2 separate regions of the Homo sapiens genome follow, and region 1 is linked to region 2. Evidence: promoter capture Hi-C in 16 types of primary human blood cells and fetal thymus (Javierre and others, 2016). All regions are on one chromosome and are shown on one strand. The core of a region is centred on a gene start or on the middle of the fragment in contact, and the rest is flanking DNA. Distances in the headings are between cores, read along the strand shown. Region 1 overlaps RPTOR (regulatory associated protein of MTOR complex 1). Region 2 holds the start of ENDOV (endonuclease V).

Region 1 (4,160 bases), core at 553-3,052, 510 kb before region 2:
AGCTGGGGATGAGCTGAGCTGGGGATGAGCTGAGGAGCAGCTGGGGATGAGTTGAGGATGAGCTGGGGATGAGTTGAGGATGCGCTGGGGATGAGCTGGGGATGAGGATGAGCTGAACTGAACTGAGGATGAGCTGGGGATGAGCCAGGGATGAGCTGAGGATGAGCCGAGGATGAGCCAAGGATGAACTGAGCTGAGGGTGGCACGAGGGGACTTCTCAGGCTCTGCCTGCTGCAGGTTTATATAAAGAATGTCACACAGAGTGTCATTCTCAGAGGAGAAAAACAAAACAAAACAGAAAAAGTCATTTTTGTGGGAGAATCTATGACAGGATGCTCAATGTTCACTGCATAGTGAGAAAAGCGGGACCGGAAGCCATGCAGGCAGGGCAACCCCAGTGCTGGGAGGGAACCCTGCGTGGGGACTATGGCCATCTCAAGTCGCTCCTTCACTGCCTGAGTTTCTAATGGTGCACTGAAACCCCAGCTGCACAGCCGCAGATCTGATGACGGGCAGTGCAGCTTCCGCATCCACCCTAGAGGAGCAGATGCTCTCAGGGCAAAACAAGATCCCCATGCTCTGCGGAGCCGCCAAACGGAAATCCCCACTGTAGCTTTAAGGGCTGTGTGAAATAAACTGGGTTCTGCGTGTGATGCCTCCCAACAGCGTATCGACTCTTAAAGCTTTTTATAATTAAAAATGGTATTTTAGTCTGTTTTAAATTGCAAAACTAATAACTGTTCTTTCTAAAAAATTCAAATCATCCAGAAGTAAATGATGAAAAAAAGAACAGTCCCCTTGCCTGGCTCCAACTCCACCTTCTAGAAGTCACTGTGTGGCCAGCCTGCTGTGTAACTGGCCAAGCCTCCTCCCGTGCTTGTTCCAGTCTACAGAAGCACAGAGCTCGTGCAAGCATTTTGTACAATTTGATTATTTTACCTTTTGGATCAAGGACATCCAACCAAGTCCTCATAGAAAGATACAACTTAAAGAATTTTAATGGTTGTATAGTATTCTAACCCATGGATCCATCATTTTAAATTAACTCTCCTACTAAGTGATTCTTTTCAACTTTTTCCCATTACAAATCATGTTATCATGAACATCTCCGGGCAGAACCCTTTCATGGACATGTATATTAGTGGTTTTTAAGAATATATGCCTCCTAGCAGGATTGCTGGCTTTGCAGGTATACCCTTTTCTAATCCTGACAGTTACTGCTTAATTGCCCTAAGCAAAGGGAGTACTGGACCCACCCACCAACAGTGTCTGAGAGTTCACATGCCCCTACAGCCTTGTAGGGATTGATTCTCTGGATAGAATCAATTTTTGAAACCTTCCAACTGAGAGAAGAAAAAAGTTGTATGACTTTTGTAATCAGAACACAATTCAATACATCTTTTTCTTTCTTAAGCACACGGCAGACCATTTTTAATATTCTTTTGTGGTTTCTAATGTAGACACGAGCTCCGTAAACCAACATGGGAAGAAAGGAGGTTGCTTCACCAATCAAAGGTGAGCCGCAGACAGAACACGGCTCTTTCTAGTCATACGGACCTGTACGAAATCTGACGGTGAACTAATAAAAACGTTAGCAGACGCTGTCCTTACCACGGTGTCCTTGGATGCTCATCCTGCTAATCGCTAGTTGCATGTCAGTGTAAACTGGTCATTATTTTGTGACCTGGTAACTGTTTTAGTTTCTTATATACCTTGAAGCAGTTTCGGGTTTGCAGTTCTTCTGTTCTTTTTTAGGTTCAATCCTAGCCTTAGAGCTATTTTTAGTTTACATGTGAAGCAGGCTAATAACAAGAAGTTCCTAATGCAGCTCGTTACACAAATGTCATTAGATGATGAATTAAATCAGTAAAAGAATACCTTTATGAATACCACCTAGAAAAAGTAGGAAAACAATTTTTTTTTTAAACAAGAGAAAACACGTCCTGCTTCCTCTTCTGAAGTTTGGAAAAGGTCTCTAATGTTAAAGACACTCCTAAGACTGCAGTTGCTATCAGGAGTTACAGACGACGCCGACCACAACACGGCGCTCTTTTCCATCATGACACCCAGAGCCTGTTGTTTCAACGACAACCAAGTGAGCATTTGTTTTCAAATACTTGGCAGGGGCAGAGGAAGACAATCATTTACTCATTCAGCAACCGTTTCCTGATCAACCTCCTGTGTGATGGCAGCTCCTACATGGATCCCCTTGGACTAATCTCCTCTGCAGTGTCCACACAGCAGGACCTGCTGGCAGGGCCAGACCACAAGGCTGACACCCTCCAGCTCCTCCGTGCGGGCGGGAATTCTCAGATGTGCAAATGGAGGAGATGAGGGCAGGCGGAGGAGGGGCTGCTAATCTGAAGAAAGGGAGAGGAGACGCTGGCTTGGGGCTTGCACACACCGGAACAAATAGACACACACACACAGACACACAGAAACACACAGACACACACACGAGATACACATACACACATACAGAGATACACACACACATCACACAGACAGACACAGGGATACACACACACACATAGAGACAGACAGACAGACAGACAGACAGACACACACACGGCCTTCCACATGCCTCTGGGGAACTTCCTCCTGCAATCAGCTGCTGTGTACTTAAAAATGCTTAGGAAAGGAAAGCAAATCCTTTGGGGAAAAGTCAAATTCATTTTTAAGTTTAAGAGCAATGAGTTTTGGATTATCTATGCCATTCCTCTTTCATCATAGGATAGATGACTGAGAATAGGCATTTTTCAAGGACTTCAAGAAAAGCCTCTCGTTATCACACCAAGAAATTACCAACATGTACAGCCACTGCCATCCCAGCAAGAGCGAAGACCAGACCATGTGGGTTTCTTAGTCGCCTGACCTTGTCTGCCTTAAGCACGAGACCGCATCAAGGACACCAAGCTTGTTAACATTAGACTAAATTCCATTGACTTTTCAACAGACTGGGCCGCAGTTCTAGAGGACGGCCTGGCACCCCTGGCACAGTGTCCAGCCACCTCCCAGCTCTGGCTCACTCAGAGTTTGGGTGGCTCCTGCTTCCTGCATCCAATTCCAGGATTTGTGTATGCTTTCCTTTCCTAACCAGAAGCCTCCTAGTGATGGGAAGGGGCACTTCCCTCTGTCTGCAGGGGCCGCCACCCTCATGCCACCCGCAGGTAAGCAGCGGTGAGCCCAGCAGGTGGGCCTGGTGAGGGGCTTCTGACTAGGACTGAATCCACCAGCCTCAATGATCTCCTGGGGTTTGTTTCTTTGATTCTTTTCCCCCGACTCTAAAGGTGCTTCGTGCTTAGTGTAGAAACTGCAGAAGAGGCACAAAAGAAGCCCAATTCAGTGCAGTCGTGGGTGGCGCCATTTGCGAATCTCTAGTTAGGAGCGGGCTCTGCTGGTCTCCGTCGTATGCACATCTGTGTCTGTATGAGAAGCACGGCTGTGATTGTTCTGTAAATCTGGCTTCTTGGTCTGCATTTTGCATTTTTTCTTTTTAAGGAATGTTGTCATGAGCGCTTCCTTAGGACACTATTTTTAATGTTTAACTTTTCAGTAGCTCCAATAATATCTCATCAAATATTTCATAACTTTTTAACTATTCACCCTCTGTGGACATTTAAGTGAATCTCAATTTTCGTTCTTAGAAACAACACGGAAGTCATCTACATCTCTGATTATTTTCTCAAGACAGTATTTTAGCAGATTCATGACTGGGTCAAAGGGAACGGCTATTTAAGGCGTTTGATGCTTCCCGGCAAGACGCTTTCTAGAACAGCCAGGCCACTGTCCACCCAGGTTCATGTGAGAAGAGGGAGGCGAACTCCTCTCTCTTTGCAGTAAAGGGGCTCCGTAGTTCAAGCTTCATGGCTTGCCTGCCTCAGGGGCTGCCTGATGGTTCTGTTTTTATGAACAGAAATCAGCATTCACTATGAAGACAGGACCACAGGGACTGAGCTGTCATGGGGTCCAAATACCATTCACAGAGATGACTAAGACGCAAGCTTGATATACAATCGAGAATAAGCTGAGAGTTTCAGCTTTCAATTATATATGAGGGAAGAGGCAGGTTTGCTCAGAATGCACTTTAGATTTATAGAAAATCTCCACGAGTCCCTGCTGGGCCCTGGCAGAGAGATGAGCACTGGGACTGTGCTGAC
Region 2 (4,260 bases), core at 171-2,670:
TGAAAATGCTGCTCAGGAACCCACAGGAGTGATGGTGGCACAGCCAGGGAAGGAGCAGAGGGGAAACAGACAAGGGGACAGATTCCAGCGACATTTAAGAGGCAGAATAAAAGCGAGCTAGTGTGCAACTGGACGCGAGAGGAACGGAGGGGCCCAGGAGGATGCAGATCTCCAGCTTGGGCAACTGGGAGCGTGGTGGACAGGTCACTGAGATGAAGAACCCAAGATAACAATCAGACTTGAAGATAAAGCTCATGAGCTGATTCTTAATAGTCACAGAATTCCCTTAATTTTTGCCTTTTTTTCCCTTCCAAGACTCCCCAGACTTTTTTTTTTTTTTTTTTTTTTTGAGATGGAGTTTCGCTCTTGTTGCCGAGGCTGGAGTGCAATGGCGTGATGTTGGCTCACCGCAACCTCCGCCTCCCGGGTTCAAGCGATTCTCCCGCCTCAGCCTTCCGAGTAGCTGGGATTACAGGTATATGCCACCACACCCGTCTAATTTTGTATTTTTAGTAGAGACCGGGTTTCTCCATGTTGGTCAGGCTGGTCTCGAACTCCCGACCTCAGGTGATTCCCCCGCCTCAGCCTCCCAAAGTGCTGGGATTGCAGGCGTGAGCCACCGCGCCCGGCCAACTCCCCAGACTATTAATGACATCCTACAAAACGAGAAGCCGGGTTCTACGCTTGCACTGCTCCCTGTCCCGGAGACCGCACGCCCGAGCCCACCGAGGGGCCCGCCTCGAGCTCGGCGTCCTCCCAGGTTACCTCGAGCTCAGGGAAGCTGAGCACCACCAGGGAAGCACAAGCGCGGACACTGTCCCCTTTCACGAAGGACACGTCAACGCCCCCGACCCTCTGCAGACCCGAGAAGGCGGGGTCTCGCTGCCACGCCTCGGTGTCCCGGTCTACGACGTGGGCCTTCAGCCGAGCTTGCTCCCTAGGAGGACAGAAGCGTCAAACTTGGTCGGGGTCACACCTCAGACTCTGCCTCCTCCACCCGCGCGGCTGCAGCGGACAGAGCGCCTCTGCCGGGTCTTCTCCCGCTTCAAGGGAAAGCAAGGGACATACCGCCGAGGCCACAGTCCCTAGGAGCCCAGGCGGCGGAGACCCGCGCAAGCGCAGGCCAGACAAACTGGCCGGAAGCGAGAACCGCGCCCACCCCGCGGACTACAATTCCTGAGATCCCTCCGCTTCCGCGCCGGAAACTGGGCTTTGCTTTGGAGTCTCGGGCGGTGGCAGCTCCGATTCCACAGCCTGAAGACTATGAGCTCGGAGGGTCCGCGAAGGGCCGCCCGGCCTCGGCCCCCGCCTCCTGCGCGTCGCCTGACAGCATTACCGTTTCCACAGTGACAGCGTTTCCTCCGGCGGCCCTCCCGCCGCCTCCAGGGCCATGGCTTCGTCCCGGGCACCCCTTCCGCACGTCACTTCCGGAAGCGACTCGCTCTGACGCCGTCCGCCCTCGTTGCCATGGAGACGCTTGCGCTTTCCCGGGCCGCACTTCCCACCCGGGTCTTCAGAAGCCCGTGGCCGCTGGGTGAGCCCCTGCGTGAACGCACACGCACGCACACGGCTTCAGGTTGCCCCGCGGCGCCGCGCGCGATATCGGCTCGGATCCCGGGAGGCCGTCCGCCCCTTTTTCAGCGGATAGCTGAGGCCAGGTAAGTGACCGCGCGAGGACCCGGGAACTCCGTGACGCCCGTCCCGCCTCTGCTGTCCCCGCCGCAAGCGCTGCGCTCTGCACGGCGAGAGGGGCCTCTTGCCCTGTTGAGAGCCGGCGGGCACGGCACTTCTGCGCTTGGAAAAGGGTGGTCCAGCACTGCAGGTCCCACTCCTTGGCCCGGTCAGCGTCCGCCTTTGCTGAACCCCGAAAGGATTCACCAGGTCCAGGACAGCCCGGCAGTTGCCTCAGGAGCACTTACTGAGCGCCTGTCGTTGACGCCCCCACCTCGATGGCAGCTCAGGGGTGCCCTCAAGCTTTTGAGGGCAGGTGTCGTGTATTTAAATTCTTCACAGTTTAGCGGGCTGGACTCACGGGGGTGCTGCAGACTTGGACGGGGTTTCATCTGGGTCGGACCTTGCTGGGCAGAAAGCTTCTCCTACCAGACAAAGTACGGCGACCTTGGGGGGTCTTGGTTCTTACCTCGTGTTCCTCATTGAATGAGTGTTGGTTCAGTGCTCTCGCTGTGCCAGGTGTTGTGCGAAGTACTGTGAGGGAGAATATGTATTTATTTGTGGGGAGCCGACTTTAAACCGGTGGTTGGGAAAGGCCTGAGAGGCGATATTGAAGACACCTGAAGGGTGAGTGAAAGAGCACGGCGGGTGAGTGGAGCAGCTTTCTCGTGCAGGTCCCGGGGTGGGAAAGAGGTTGGTGTATTTGAAGCACTGAAAGGCAGCCACTGAAGCTGAAGTGTAGCAGTTTAACCCATGGTTTTATATTCTCCTGGGAGGATTCAGAAGGGTGTATGTGTGTATGTATATATAATAGCCTGAATATAAACGTCAAGGGTGTTAGGTTTTGAAGGGAAGGTGAAGGTTAAAGAATGACGCACAGTGAGATTGCCGGCGCGCGGGCGGCTCTACAGCAACACAGGTGTATTGCAAACACCTGTCGGGGGCCAGCTTAATGCCAGAGCCCACCAGCGATTACAGGCTGGGGTACTCATAGGCCTGGGCAGGAGGGATCTAGGCAGTATGGCTTGCTGTCCGGGAAGATGTTAACGTGTTCCCAGGATGAGGTGGTTCCGGCAGAATGTGGTGTTCCTGGCGCTTTGTCCCAGCAGAATATGTTAAGAGGCAGGCTGTTTCTCATGGCTCGAACCCCCGTGGAATGTTTCACTTTGACCAAGGTCTACAAAATGGAAAGGGGCTTACAAAATGACGCAGTTTGGACTAACAAAGGGGAAAATACAGAGGATGAAATTAGACTCTAGAGGTTGAGGCTCAGGAAAGGCTTCATACAGCTTTGGGAACTGACAAGGCTTTGAAAGCAGGGTCAGTTTTCAGCGAATGAGCGTCACCCACTGCACCCTGCGCACCCTGCTCCCCTGCTGCGGTGTCTTTCCCACCAGAGTGTAGCAGGACAAGCCGCAGACAAAACCCCTCAGACACCGAGTTAAAGAAGGGCTTTATTCAGCTGGGAGCTTCGGCAAGACTCACGTCTCCAACAACCGAGCTCCCCGAGTGAGCAATTCCTGTCCCTTTTAAGGGCTCACAACTCTTCAGGGGTCTGCGTGAGAGGGTCGTGATTGATTGAGCAAGCAGGGGGTACGTGACTGGGGGCTGCATGCACCCGTAATTAGAACGGAACAGAACAGGACAGGGATTTTCACGGTGCTTTTCTATATAACGTCTGTAATCTATAGATAGCATCACTGATTAGGTCAGGCGTCGATCTTTAACTACCAGGCCCAGGGTGTGGTGCAGGCTGTCTGCTTGTGGATTTCATTTCTGCCTTTTAGTTTTTACTTCTCTCTTTGGAGGCAGAAATTGGGCGTAAAACAATATGAGGGGTGGTCTCCCTTATTCTCCCTCTCTGAGAATCTCACTCAGTAGTGGGAGTTGTCACTTTTATTTTTACTACCTATGTTTTCTTGCAAGACAGATCGATAGTGATTCATATAGTACAGTTGTGCTGAAGCATTTTGGTGAACTAAGGTAGCGATGAAGCTTTTTATCATTTGAAGAAGTATGGGTAGCAAACAAGGGAGCAGAACGCAGGTTTCTATTGCTATTGTAACTCCTAATATAAGAGTTTTAAATCTTTTTAGTGCTGGGAACCATTTTCCAAACATGGCCCCAGGACCAAATCCATGCCACACTTGCACGGGCACATGTGCCAGTTTTGTCATATTTCTAACTGTGTCTTCAACTAATTGCCCTCGATCATCTATGTGTAGACAGCAATTAGTAAGGTTAAATTTTTTACAGACCTCTCCTTCAGCTGCTAGCAAGTAGTCGAGAGCCAATCTATTTTGATAGATAGCATTTCTCATCTGAGTTTCTTGCCAGGCCAGAATAGTCAAGGCTCTGCCGGTCTTATTAGTGATTATTTCTAAGACAGCTTGTAACCGTATGATTCGGTTGAGCATGTAAATGGGGGTCGGGTATCCCTAGGAGCCATCTTGTGCCTAAGTACCAGGCCCATAATATTGTATGATTCTTTCAGGGGGCCATGTATTATCTTTTGAATTTTTTATAGCTATGCTTCTCTTTTTGCGGGAAGCACAGACAGGGAAGCCCAGGAGTTCGCCTGTCTTTATG

The links. Contacts are between HindIII fragments. The CHiCAGO score rates a contact against its expected background, and 5 or more counts as called.
Region 1: a fragment that was not itself captured here is called in contact with the fragment with the promoter of ENDOV in region 2 in 12 of 17 cell types (endothelial precursors, M2 macrophages, activated CD4 T cells and 9 more); the score reaches 12.8 in endothelial precursors.

The regions. Positions count from the first base shown.
Region 1 is chr17:80,926,010-80,930,169 of GRCh38, reverse strand. All of the region lies in intron 24 of RPTOR (regulatory associated protein of MTOR complex 1), which reads right to left. Among named protein-coding and RNA genes, the nearest start is that of CHMP6, 64 kb to the left of the region's middle. The HindIII fragment of the contact is 2,233 bases long and covers 686-2,918 here.
Region 2 is chr17:80,412,327-80,416,586 of GRCh38, reverse strand. ENDOV (endonuclease V) reads right to left here and starts at 1,420. Exons shown (of 10, transcript NM_173627.5): 1 at 1,337-1,420; 2 at 766-937. The coding sequence starts at 1,392. It overlaps RNF213-AS1 (RNF213 antisense RNA 1), which reads left to right and starts at 1,419. Exons shown (of 2, transcript NR_029376.1): 1 at 1,419-1,658. RefSeq lists an enhancer at 898-987. The HindIII fragment of the contact is 3,926 bases long and covers 1-1,976 here.